Regions from separate parts of the Homo sapiens genome. Here all the other regions are linked to region 3. The links are contacts of gene promoters, found by promoter capture Hi-C in blood cells and fetal thymus (Javierre and others, 2016). All regions are on one chromosome and are shown on one strand. The core of a region is centred on a gene start or on the middle of the fragment in contact, and the rest is flanking DNA. Distances in the headings are between cores, read along the strand shown. Region 1 overlaps ABCC4 (ATP binding cassette subfamily C member 4 (PEL blood group)). Region 2 overlaps CLDN10-AS1 (CLDN10 antisense RNA 1). Region 3 holds the start of ABCC4 (ATP binding cassette subfamily C member 4 (PEL blood group)).

Region 1 (4,611 bases), core at 113-2,612, 150 kb before region 3:
ATCATTATGATTGATGCAATCTTTTGTGTTATTCCCTTTATAGTCACTTGCATTTGTTATTATTAACAAGAAAAAATGAAAGGGGAAATGTGTGTTTTTGTTTTGCAACAAAGCTTTTCTGGTGATGACTAACTTCTTCCTTTGAACACAAAAAGCCTCTTAAACTAACTAATGTACATATAAATGTGTTCTTTACAATACGCATCAGGCAAGGGGGTGGGAGGGAAAGCCCGCAGGACTTAAGCCAGAATTAAAAGCAATATAGGCAAGATTGAGTACATGAAAGCTGTCAGGACGGTTGTTATTCTCAATTTCTTACAGCTCATCTGCTCTCAAGGAAGAAAAATCATAGTTTCTTTTAACCATATCCACAACAGATCTCACTTGAAAGGAAACATAGCGAGTGATTTGGCATCAATGGGCATATTACCAATTTTCCAGCATCACTACTGAATATTTATACTGGTGACGAATGATGACACTGAGGAAATATTTTAGCACGAAGCTTTGCCTTGTAAATTGTCTGAATGGTGCTGTGTCAAAACAACACCTACCATAAATCAGAGGTTTTAGGACCAGTATTTCTTGTTTAAACATGCTACCTGCTCAGCAGAATCACTTGTGTGAACAGGCATAGATTAATGTGTGCTGGGCAGAGCCATCTTACCCCCTAGCTTATAGAGCTATAATTTAACAAGCCTATTATTGTAGAGGTAATTTTGACAGTGCTGAAATATTATACTTGTTAAAAATGCACATTTAGCACCAACTCCAGTGGTCATTTGAACTGAATAAACAGATAAATAGGTATCCCTACAATTATGTTTCTTCTTTATTGATGACTCTTTTTTTCTGGCAAGGAAGTGGGATATGGACATCAGATTTTATAGAGTATCGCAAGACAGTCTTTCTGATCATATAAAAAGCTCATCATGGAGGTTGCTTTCAGTTCTCCACAAATTATTTAGCAACTTGTAGTGGATTCCAGAGTCCCTTTCCAGGTTTCAGAAACAGAACAATAGTTCAAACCACTACCACCCTCCTCCCCTCAATTCCTGTAGGATGCACATCCTAACTTCCCATTCAGTCAAGCTGGGAAGGAATCATTCTTTTTTTTTTTTTGGAGACAGGTTGGAGTGCAGTGATGCAATCACAGCTCACTGCAGTCTTGACCTCCCAGACTCAAGTAATCCTCCTGACTCAGCCTCCCGAGCTGCTGGGACTACAACCACGCCTGGCTAAAAGCTGAGAATCTTAATCACTGGGGCAACCCTCGATTTTTGATTAGGGAACATAGGAGAATATGTCTATCTTAAAATCTAGTACTAGCATTCGCATTCCATACCTCAGTGACCACAAGCATCTTCCACTGGATTAAAAAAAAGAAACATGGGAAGAAGTCAATATGTTTCTTTTTTCTTTTATCTAGTGTTTTAGCTCTCATTTACCTTAATCTATAAAGAAAAAAGAATGATATGAATCTGGTTTTTTTGTTACACTGTTGAAGGCATCGATGAACATAAATATACATACACACACATACTCCCCACGCACACACTGGAGAAAAACCAGTTGTGTAAAACACACTGGCTGTAACCCAATATTAACTTTTACTTCCCTGAGAGAGTAAACAAACACTTCTACCAACACCAGCTCTTGGGTTCTTAAAGCCAAATTAACAAATTGAAAGCAAGTAAACATTTATCTGGCACCCATTAGAGTCAGTGTACTTAGCTAAATGTTATGTCACCATAATTAGGCATGAGAAAACAGGACAACAAACCGCTCATCTTTTCTCCAAAACAAAGAGTGAAATTGTAGAGACCTGATAAGAATAAAATGTCTCTGCTAACTCTGTTGGCGTGGAAGAAAACTAAAGAAACTAACTGTGTAACTATCTTTCTCTGCAAACTCATGCTTACAAAGAAAACAGAAACATCATACAAGCAAATCATAATGTATGCTTCAGGAATTAAAATGCATCCAACCACTCAAGATGTCAGCGTCTGCCTATTCCAGTTACTAGTCAAGAAGGTGTAATTAGGAAATCCAAAAAAACCCTGTTTGAAATGCTAGGTATTCCAGGACAACATCAGAAAAATATCTTCCACAAAGACTTTCATGTTTCAAACATAATACGCCACAATATTACTTTTTAAATTTCATATTAACACATATCAAGATACAAAGACCCAAGCTATAAAAATAGAATTTCCAAGAAAGCTTTAAATTAAAAACCAGGTTTTGCAATGAGGTGCTCTTACATTATATCACTGAAATACTGCAGATCATGCTGCCCTCTTGTGCTGGATATCAAAAGCAAAATTAATTCTGCCCATGCCAGGAAAACAGGATTTACATTTAAAATAAAAATCATCTCTTAATTTCTGAAGACTTACTCTTGACCTAGGATTTGTGTTACCCATTTATTATGATTGGAACAGAACGGAAACAGGGCTAAGACACACACAAAAACTGACTAGGAAGAGGTAGATGCAGCGAACAGTACCAGAAAATATCTGCAAATGCCCTATTCAACTCAGGTCATAATCAAAATATGAAGGAGGTGTCCGAGGGCAGCTGAAAATGTAAGGCTTCTTAACAGACACACGTGATCCCATCACCAACCTACATCAAAAGAGGAAAGAATAAAAACTAGCAATGGGTGAGAGGAGGATAAAAAGACGAGAAAGGAAAACCGGCTCTTGGCAGGGCGCGGTAGCTCACGCCTGTAATCCCAGCACTTTAGGAGGCCAAGATGGGTGGATCACCTGAGGTCAAGAGTTCGAGATCAGCTTGACCAACATCATGAAACCCCATCTCTACTAAAAATACAAAAATTAGCCAGGTGTGATGGTGGACACTGTAATCCCAGCTACTCGGGAGGCTGAGGCAGGAGAATCACTTGAACCTGGGAGCCGGAGGTTGCTGTGAGCTGAGATCACGCCACTGCACTCCAGCCTGGGCGACAGAGTGAGACTCTACCACACACACACACACACACACACACACACACACACACACACAAACAGTCACCATTTGTCCACTGGTGGTCACCTTGGATGAATGTGTGTCCATTCTTGCTGGGGGCCCAGCCCGCTCCCAACAGCAGACAGAGCATGGTTGCCCCTCAGACCCAGCTCCACATTGCTCGTCAGTACTTGGCTTCTTGGGAAAACTGCTATCTCAGTACCAATAGGAGGTAAAACCCTGTCTCTACTAAAAATACAAAAAAAAAAAAAATTAGCCGGATGTGGTGGCAGACACCTGTAATACCAACTACTCAGGAGATAGACACATGAGAATTGCTTGAACCCAAGAGGTGGACATTTGCAGTGAGCTGAGATCATGCCACTGCACTCGACTGGGCAACAGAGCAGGAAGAAAGGAAGAAAGAGGAAGGAAGGAAGGAAGGAAGGAGAAAAGAAAGGAAGGAAGAAAAGAAAGAAAAGAGAAAGAGAGAGAGAACTGGCTCTTGTCATTCTAAGGCAGCACACTGGTTTGGCTCACATTTTATCCTGCTAGCTTAAGATTTATCAGGTTAACGAAAGGCCAGTAGATAAAAAGGTATTGTATTATATAAACAAAGATGAATTTCATGCAACCATAGGTGGGTTCGAAATGGAGAGGAACTTAATATCTGGCATGTTGGAGAAGCGTGGCCTTCCTAGAAACAGAAACTTCAGGCCGGGCGCGGTGGCTCACGCCTGTAATCCCCACCACTTTGGGAGGTGGAAGCGGGCAGATCACGAGGTCAGGAGATCGAGACCATCCTGGCCAACACGGTGAAACCCGTCTCTACTAAAAAAGTACAAAAAATTAGCCGGGCGTGGTGGTGGGTGCCTGTGGTCCCAGCTACTCTGGAGGCTGAGGCAAGAGAATGGCATGAACCCAGGAGGCAGAGCTTGCAGTGAGCCAAGATCACGCCACTGCACTCCAGCCTGGGTGACAGAGCAAGACTCCGTCTCAAAAAAAAAAAAAAAAAAGAAACAGAAACTTCGCTGCTGAGAAGAAACACAGACCTTCCAGGTTTACCTTCCCCTTCTCCCTAAATCCAAATAAGTGAACTTGGGACCACAGTGGGGCAGTCAGGGGGACCCTTCCAGAAGGTCTGGTTCTCTGAGTCACCAGCAAGGGTCGCCCATTCATTAACCACACAGATGAGGATCTGGGCAGAAGCATGATGAGGGGGATGGCACACTGGGGTGGGAGTGGACATAAAATAATGGAGAAGACATTTCTATGCTGCAGACCAGAGTCACTGAGAATATTCCAGCACAAGGGCACTGGAGATGGGGATATGAGGGACGTCTAGCCAGACCCCCGGTGTGAATCACCTGGAGTTTCTGTGCCAGTCACCATCCCAAGGTGAGCTTACTGGAAACTACATGCCAGCAGAGGTCCTCCCCGTTTCCTAAGTTTTCTAAAACCTGGGAGAATATCAGGATGCTGAGCTCATAGGAAACTCCCCCGGGGCTCTTCTAAGAGCTTGCTTTTAATAACTAAGTATTCAGACATGCTTCCCAGTCTTTCTACCCCACTCAAAGAACACTCTGCAATTCAGGGGGCACAACATCATGCCAGATACTTATACATATTTAACATGTATGT
Region 2 (4,047 bases), core at 626-3,125, 180 kb after region 3:
AGGATTATAGGCATGACCCACTGTGCCCGGCCTCTTAATTTTTTAAGCATCACAGGTTGTATCCCCAGAAACCAGACTCTAAAGAGGCATTTCATGAAGGCGTGCCTGTGGGAGGGACCACACCTGTGGAAGGTAGGGGACAGAAGCAGGAGTGGGCAGAGCAGTGACGTTGAGCTACAACCCAAGGCTGACAGTCTCAGCAAACCTCACCAAGAGCTCTGGAGTTAGGTGGACTTTTAGAAACATGCCAAGCATGGCTGAGCTGGCCAAGCCCTTATGCTCCACCATCCATTGGTCACTCGATATGAGCTTCCCCAGGCATGAGTGTGCTATGGTCTGAATATTTGTGTCCCTCCAAAACTCGTATGTTAAAATGCTAACCCCCAAGGTGATGGTATTGGGATGTGGGGCCTTTGGGAGGTGATTAGGTCACAAGGATGGAGCCCTCGGGATGGGATTAGTGCCCTTATAGAAGACACCCCAGAGAGGTCCCTCCCTTATCCCTTCCACCACATGAGGATACAGTAAGAAGACATTCTCTATCAGTTAGGAAGCCAACCCTCACCAGGCATCAAATTTGCTGGTGCCTTGACTTTGGCCTTCCCAGCCTCTAGAATTGTGAGAAATACATTTCTGTTGTTTTTGAACTACTTAGTCTCTGGTAGGATAGCAGCCCAAAAGGACAAAGATAGGGCATGTCCTTGGGTGAGGCAGCTCTCTGCAGCTCAGTCACTTTCTGAGAGGGCTAAGAGCTACAGGCTGACTGCAGCAGCACTTCTAGCAGCTGGGGCCTGATGTCCTTCACTGTCCTTTCTGGGCAGCATATCACAGTATCCACTGCACACCACTCGGCTATCATTCTGTTCAGATACTTCTTGACTGGTCTTTCTACTTCTAATTTGTTCCATGTAGAATCTATCCTAAACACTACTTCCCTAATCTTTCTTAAAGGAAAATATTGGTAAAATATTTCATAGTCTGTCATTATGAATAATTTTATATGTCATTCCCCTGAAAAGAGGTGTTACAAGGTCAAGTTTTTTCAGTTATGCAGGAAATGTAAGTGTGTAAAGAAGCAGGATGAGGCCAGGTGTGGTGGCTCACGCCTGTAATCCCAGCACATTGGGAGGCCAAGGTGGGCAGATCACTTGAGGTCAGGAGTTCAAGACCAGCCTGGCCAACATGGCGAAACCCCGTCTCTACTAAAAATACAAAAAAAAAAAAAAAAAACCCACAAAAATTAGCCAGGTGTGGTGGCAAGCACCTGTAGTTCCAGCTACTCGGGAGGCTGAGGCACAAGAATCGCTTGGACCCAGGAGGTGGAGGTTGGAATGAGCCAAGATTGTGCCACTGCACTCCAGCCTGGGTAACAAAGTGAGACCCTGTCTCAAAAAAAAAAAAAAAAAAAAAAAAAAAAAAGAAGCAGAGTGCAATACAACATGGTATGATGGGGTCTTATTTAGTTTGATTTAGTTTGCCTCCACTTCACCCCACTGGTGAGGGAGGGATTCCGCCCTAGAGTTGAGAGGATGGTTGAATGTACAACATCCAAGCCTAGACAGATGAGATGGGCAGCAGGTAATTAGTCACATATGCTCATGGCCCAGGGAAGGACGACACTGCCCCACAGAGAGCCACGTGGGGGTTGCAGCTGGGAACAGAGTGAACCACCAGGAAGCTGTGGGAGGCAGGCTTTGTAGTAACAAGAGGGCGAGGTGCCCCTGGTTCCTGTAAGAGGATGTGTTTGGTTTGCTTGGATAATTCTACAGGCTGACGGGGACCTGAAGCCTAGCACTGCGCCTGGTCCCTTTGATAAGGAGGGTTGCTTGGCTAGAGGACTTTATCCACCAGGAGCAGAGTGGGAGGAGAACTTGCAGTTAATCCATTTGAGCCTCTGTACCCTGATTTTACCAGCCTCCATGGTCAAGGCAGCACTTAGTTTTGAATCTTAATTTCAGGCCTTACACCACAGGTCTATGAGTCATTGGAGCTGAATTTCCTATCCAAAGGTATTCAAAATTATTTTCAAATCTGATCTGGCCAAACAGAATTCTACCATTCATCACTGCTGGTTTTCAAGCCCGGGCCCACTCCAGATTCCCTAGAATGGCACATCAGGGCATTCCTAATCAGGCCTAATCCATATCTCCTTTCTCATCATCCCTGCTAAATTTCAGCCTGAGTTTACACACATTCACTGGACAACTTGTGTTTTTGGCATACTCAGCTGTATGTTTTTCCTCACTCTATTTCCTCCAGATAAGGACTAGAAATTCTAGCCGTGCTTTGAGGCCAACTCAAATGTAACCTCCTCTGGGGTGACTTTCCTGGGCATTGCAGGATAAGTGCCTGGATGGCCTTGATAACCCAGCTCTTCCCCCATTTTTCACTTGTAGTTCTCAGAATAATGCTAGAATGTGCTGGAAACAACATTCTGAGATAAGGAAAAGCTGTCCAGAATATGCCAGATTCTGTTTCTGTTCCTCTTAGGACAAGATGTCCTCCAATGCTGTGGTCCAGTGATCCCAGTTTCCCCCCAGGGTATAAAACCCAGAGTGGAGTGCTTTCAGAGTGCCTCAGCTACAGTGCATTGTGGGGCATGTGCAGACAAGACTCCATCCATTCTGAGTAGCTTCCTGAGCCTTGCAGAATCAGCTCGCAATGGATGCTAGGCTTCTGTTGTGCCTTGCTGCCTATCTGTGATGAATAAAGTTGCTTTGCCTAACTTGTTCTGTGAGTGTTCTGTCTCCCTCAACTCCTGCAAGTGGTAGAAATTGCAGCCCAAGATGCAATAGGCGCATTTTGGGAGGCCGATGTGGGTGGATCACTTGAGGTCAGGAGTTTGAGACCAGCCTGGCCAACATGGCAAAACTCCGTCTCTACTAAAAATACAAAAATTAGCCAGGCATGGTGGCGTGCGCCTGTAGTCCCAGCTACTCTGGAGGCTGAGGCAGGATAATCACTTGAACCTGGGAGGTGGAGGTTACAGTGAGCCAAGATCGCACCACTGCACTCCAGCCTGGGCAACACAGTGAGACCCCATCTCAAAAAAAAAAAAAAAAAAAAAGATGCAATTGGCAGAAGTATCTGGACTCCTCTTCCTGGTGGTTGGTTGGCATAGTGATGATCTTTGCTATCCTCCATGTAGTAGGATCTCCCCTGGAATTGGTAACCAGAGTACAGTGAACCTGCCTCACAGGCATCTCAAACAGAATGAAAGGTGCCTTGCTTTTTATTCCTAAAGATTTTTCTTTTTCCATCCTGGCCATATGATTCAGTAGCCACATTTTAGCCTCTCAGTTGTGCATGTGCCTCCACCTGGCCACGTTGTGAGCTCTTTGGGGAGGCAGAACTACACTCTCCCTTTACCGCCTCAGTGTTCAACATGGTGCCTGATACTTGGGTGCTCAATCAATGAGTTGCACATGGAAAATTTAAAGAAATAAGGTTTTTGGTGGAGAAAAGAGGTGAAAAGTCATGGCCAAAATGAAGTGGAGATTTTGCTGTTGTCGCTGTGCTATCGTCTTTGTGTTGTGTTTCGCACGGATTTGAACTGTCCGTGTCCAGCCTGTTGCTCTTTAGCATGATTCTAACCTACACCTATGGGTGTTCTCTGCATCTATCTCCTGATTAAGCACATGCTATTCTCACAGGCAATTTGTTCTGGCAGCCTATGATGTCATTTCTAGGAGAACACTCTTGTCCAGTCTCTGCTATCCTAGCATCCTCTTGCTCAGAACTGAAGTTTCCCAAGAAGACTATCTCCTGTTTGCAGGACTTACTTTTCTATTTTTCCCTTAGAGGGTTACCTATGAAGAGAACTTTACACTGATATAAAGTCATCACAAAATCATTTTTGAATATTCAGTACAAATAATGCTGAAGACTGGCTAAAGAGTATGTTATCACTGCTCTAAGCTTTGCATTTGGGTTCATCTGTGGAAGCATAGTAATTCTTGAAATTTCCTCTGCACTTCTCTTAGTTTATCTCTTTCTGTCATGTAGAAGTTATTCATGTTCACATTTTATCTTCCCTCCTAGACCAGG
Region 3 (4,462 bases), core at 828-3,327:
CGTGCCCCTCTCCTTAAGAGAAAGGCCGCCAAACAACCAAGAGAAGTTCCTACACCCACTGAGTGTACCACAATCGAAACAAGAGTAAGCGACTCATCCTCTTGGAATCCCCTAGGTCAAGCTTGTCCAACCTGAGGCCCATGGGCTGCCAAATTCGTAAGCTTTCTTAAAACATCAGATTTTTTTTTGCGATTTTTTTTTAGCTCATCAGCTATCATTAGTGTTAGTGTATGATTAGTGTTAGTGTATTTTATGTATGGCCCAAGACAATTCTTCCAGTGTGGCCCAGGGAACCCAAAAAATTGGAGACCCCCACCCTAGGTTGTCCCATAATAAAAGGCAATATCAACATGTGGGAAAGATGAGGCGGCAGAGGTCAAGAAACAGAAGATCTAATAATCATCCAAGTGAGATTGAAGCCCTTCAAAGGTTCAGGCTTATGTAGTTAGCAGACGGAATTCCCCCACACACACCCGCCACTCCCCCAAGACGGAGTCTCACTCTGTCACCCAGGCTGGAGTACAGTGGGGCGATCTCAGCTCACTGCAACCTCCGCCTACTGGGTTCAAGCAATTCCCCTGCCTCAGCCTCCTGAGTAGCTGGGATTACAGGCGTGCTCCACCACACCCGGCTAATTTTTGTATTTTTAGTAGAGACGGGGTTTCACCATGTCAGCCAGGCTGGTCTCGAACTCCTGACCTCGTGATCCACCCACCTCTGCCTCCCAAAGTGCAGGGATACAGGCGTGAGCCACCGCGCCAGGCCAAGATGGAAATTTTAGTTACTACTGTCACCCGAGTCTTTCTCCGTTTGTTTCCTTGCACAAAATGGGTAGGGCTGTGGGCCCTCCCAGCTCAGGAGCCCTGGGGTGGTTTTAAGAAGGTAGAACTCCTGGTAGGAACCACCTGCATCAAGACCATGGATCACCTCTCTGAAGGTTAGCGATTCCAGGGACCCCACCTCCGAGCTGTCCTCCTACGTGGAAGTGAAAGTATTGGAAACAGGGGAAAGAAGCTGGTCAAAGACAGACTCCAGTCGTGGCGGTGCATGTCCCAGTTAAAAGCAAATCCTGGAAAATCTTGTTCAAGAACAGGGTCCCCATTCATAAATGAAAAATAATAATAGTGTTATTTTACCCACATGAAACTTGCCATAACTAGGTACCACGACCCACATGGACACACAGTGAGATTCCCACAAAGAGGCAAAAGGAGAGCCCTGGTCACTGAGACAAAAGATACAGAGACACCGGGACACAGAGAGGTACAACGGGACGTGGAGTTGGATCGAGCTGTCTCGTAAGGAATATCGGAAGGGGTGGGGACACTACTGGGAGATGGCATAGGTCCAGGACACTAATTAGGCTTTGGCTGAGATCAGATAAAGGAAACTGTTCGTAAGCTGCTTACTTAAAAAGAAAGGAAAAGGTGCGTTTGAGTTCAGGAGACTGCGAGTCCCAGAGCAGGAGGCGGGAGCCAGCGAAGGGTGGGCGTGTAAGGGGTGCAGTCGCTTCTCCCGCTGGGCAAGAGACTCCCCCTTTCGGCAGCCTGGGTTCCCCGCCTCCCCACCTCCTGCTCCTCCTCCCCCGAGCCCTAAGGGCCCGCAGGGCCTCCAGTAGCAAAGCCACTGGCCCCGCGTCCCCGCGTCCCCCTGCGCCGCGCCCCGGGGCGCAGGCAGGGACCACGCGGCCGGCGTGGGGGCGGCGCCACCCGCAGCAGAAAGCCCCGGCGTGGACCGCGTGGCGTAGGAAAGCGCTCCCCTCGCCCCCAGCCGCAGAGGGCTTGGGCAGCATCGGGCGCGGCCCCGGGAGAGTGCGTCCGCGGCGCCAGCGGCTGCAGGGTGACCTGTTTCGGGCGGGGACACTCACCAGAAGAACACGCGTGAGCAGAGGTTCGCGTCCTGCAGCGGGTTGGGCTTCACCTCCTGGTACACGGGCAGCATCTTGCCGGGCGGGGCGGGCGCGGGCCGGGGTCGCGCTGATCAGGCGGCGGTGGCCGCGGGCTCCGCTCCTGGACCTCAAGCAGGGATGCTGGGGCTCCGGCCGCCACGCCTGTCCGCTCGGCTGGAGCCTGTGAAGCAGCCGCTTCCGGGAGCCGGGCGCCGGCGGCACGCCCCGTCCCCGCCTCTCAGGCCCGCCGCCTCGGGGGCGCCCGCTACGCGCCGCCGCCTGGAGCCCGGGAGCTGCGCACCGCGTGCGAGCGCGGCCGGGACCGACGGGTGACGCGGCGGGAGGAGACGCGGCGGGAGGAGGCGAAGCTGGCGACGCCAAAGGGAGCCCAGAGCTACGCCCAGGGGTGAGGCGAGGGCCGCCTGCGCCGCTGGATGGAGAGGGTAGCAGAGCGCGCGGCAAGGAGGCCGGGTCCGGAGGTGCCCACGTGCACGAACCCGAGTGAAACTTTCCGAAATTCACTATCCGAGTCTAGGCGCCGACACAGAAGGTGGAGCAGGGAGGCGTCGGCTGTGCCCGCCCCTGCGCCGCAGAAACGCCCCCTCGGCTACGGGTTTGGGAAGACTGGGAGACAGCTGCCTCGTGCTCTAGCAGCCCGCCCCCTGGGCGCCTTTCCCTTCTCAGGACCAAACGACGGTGCCATGGGAGGCTCTTCAACCTGTGAGCCAAACATTTGACCTTGGACGACAGCAAAGTTTAGCCACAGATTATCCTTGTAGAGCTGCAAGACCTCAAGAAAGCCGGGTAACTCGAGAGTATGACCCAGATGAATTCGGGAGATGGATGAATGCTGTCGTCGATGGGGGCGGGCTTTAGGCATCTCACATGTTGCATGCTACGGTGGACCTCTGAGCTTTTTGCTGCCCCCTTAGATTGGGAAAGGAATATAAGAGGAAAGAGAGACTGCCTGATGATTTCTGTCGTCAAGCCCTAAAGCCTAACAGATAACAGTGGCAAACGACACGTGGGTTCCAGAATACCAGTGATGTTCATGTGCATTTCTGAGTGCGTAGCCTCACTAGTGTGTGTGTGTGTGTGTGTGTGTGGCAGTCTCACACACAGTGTCACGATTATGGCTCATTGCACCCTCGACCTCCCAGGGCTCAAGCAATCCTCCCAACTCAGTTTAAGTAGCTAGGACTACAGGCACCCGCCACCACACCCGGCTCATATTTTGTAATTTTTGTAGAGATGCAAAAATCAAAATCAAAGGCTCCAAGTTCAAATACTGATAATTTTTGAAGCCAAATGATTGTCATGGAGGTTTATTTTCTTCATATTTCATGCATGTTTGAGAATTTGGTTTTCTTTGTAATAAGATCATTTTATTGTTCCTTGATAATTTCTCACTTTGTTGCCCAGGCTGGTCTCAAACTCCTAGGCTCAAGTGATCCTCCCACCGTGGCCTCCCAAAGTGCTAGGATTACAGGCATGTACCACCACGCCCGACCAATTATCTCACTTTTAATTCTATCAGTGCCCCATTCAAGGTTATCCTTACTTTATAGATGAGGAAGGTGAAGCTGAAAGGCAGAACTTGTCCAGTCTTAGAGCCAAGAAAGGATAAAACATGATTTGCAATAAGCCTATGTCTAAGCATGGCCTGTCTCCCTGGTGGATGGCCAGTGTGCATGAGAAGTGCCCAGAATATGCTGGTTGAATGGCTGTAGGAATGAATGAACAAAATCTTGTTCCAAGCTTGTGTACTCCCACCTCTAAGTCTTCAGTCATTTCTGTGGCTACCTTAACAAGGTCAGCAGCTGCTCTTCATATCCACCCTGAATGAAAAAAAATGAAAGGCTCCAAGTTCATGGTGCTTGGAACAAGATCATTTTATTGTTCCTTGATAATTTCCCATGTATATTTGCTAAAATAGTATAGTTAATAGCTTTTAAAGAAAGCCTTACACAAACACATATTTAAAAGTCAAGCACAGGCTAGCCAGCATAGTGAGGCTCTGTCTCTACCAAAAGTTTTAAAAATTAGCCCAGGTGTGGTGGCGTACCCTTGTAGTCCCAGCTACTCGAGAGGCTGAGACAGGAGGATGGCTTTAGCCCAGGAGTTCCAGGCTACAAGGAGTTAAGAAGGTGCCCACTGGGCTGGGCACAATGGCTCACGCCTATAATCCTAGCACTCTGGGAGGCTGAGGCAGGTGAATCACCTGACGTCAGGAGTTCGAGACCAGCCTGGCCAACATGGTGAAACCCCATCTCTACTAAAAATACAAAAAATTATCTGGGTGTGGTGGTGGATGCCTGTAATCCCAGCTACTCAGGAACCTCAGGCAGAAGAATCACTTGAACCCAGGAGGCGGAGGTTGCAGTGAGCCGAGATCATCCCACTGCACTCCAGCTTGGCAACAAGAGTGAAACTCCGTCTCAAAAAAAAAAAGAAGGTGCCACTGCACTCCAGGCTGTACAAGCCCATAATCCCAGCACTTTGAGAGGTGGAGACAGGAGGATTGCTTTAGCCCGGGAGTTCTAGACCAGCCTGGGCAACATAGGGAGACCTCAT

Evidence for each region. Contacts are between HindIII fragments. The CHiCAGO score rates a contact against its expected background, and 5 or more counts as called.
Region 1: a contact is called between a fragment that was not itself captured here and the fragment with the promoter of ABCC4 in region 3, in 1 of 17 cell types (megakaryocytes). The highest score is 5.5, in megakaryocytes.
Region 2: a contact is called between a fragment that was not itself captured here and the fragment with the promoter of ABCC4 in region 3, in 1 of 17 cell types (megakaryocytes). The highest score is 10.3, in megakaryocytes.

The regions. Positions count from the first base shown.
Region 1 is chr13:95,154,104-95,158,714 of GRCh38, forward strand. All of the region lies in intron 19 of ABCC4 (ATP binding cassette subfamily C member 4 (PEL blood group)), which reads right to left. Among named protein-coding and RNA genes, the nearest start is that of SNORD13G, 54 kb to the right of the region's middle. The HindIII fragment of the contact is 1,718 bases long and covers 504-2,221 here.
Region 2 is chr13:95,483,477-95,487,523 of GRCh38, forward strand. All of the region lies in intron 3 of CLDN10-AS1 (CLDN10 antisense RNA 1), which reads right to left. It also overlaps a transcript of CLDN10 not described here. Among named protein-coding and RNA genes, the nearest start is that of CLDN10-AS1, 48 kb to the right of the region's middle. The HindIII fragment of the contact is 4,082 bases long and covers 1-3,916 here.
Region 3 is chr13:95,299,374-95,303,835 of GRCh38, forward strand. ABCC4 (ATP binding cassette subfamily C member 4 (PEL blood group)) reads right to left here and starts at 2,078. Exons shown (of 31, transcript NM_005845.5): 1 at 1,868-2,078. The coding sequence starts at 1,941. It overlaps LOC102724149 (a long non-coding RNA gene), which reads left to right and starts at 1,578. Exons shown (of 3, transcript XR_429273.4): 1 at 1,578-1,890; 2 at 2,573-2,953. RefSeq lists enhancers at 361-420, 2,023-2,797 and silencers at 1,614-2,253, 2,284-2,343, 2,524-2,583. The HindIII fragment of the contact is 3,485 bases long and covers 160-3,644 here.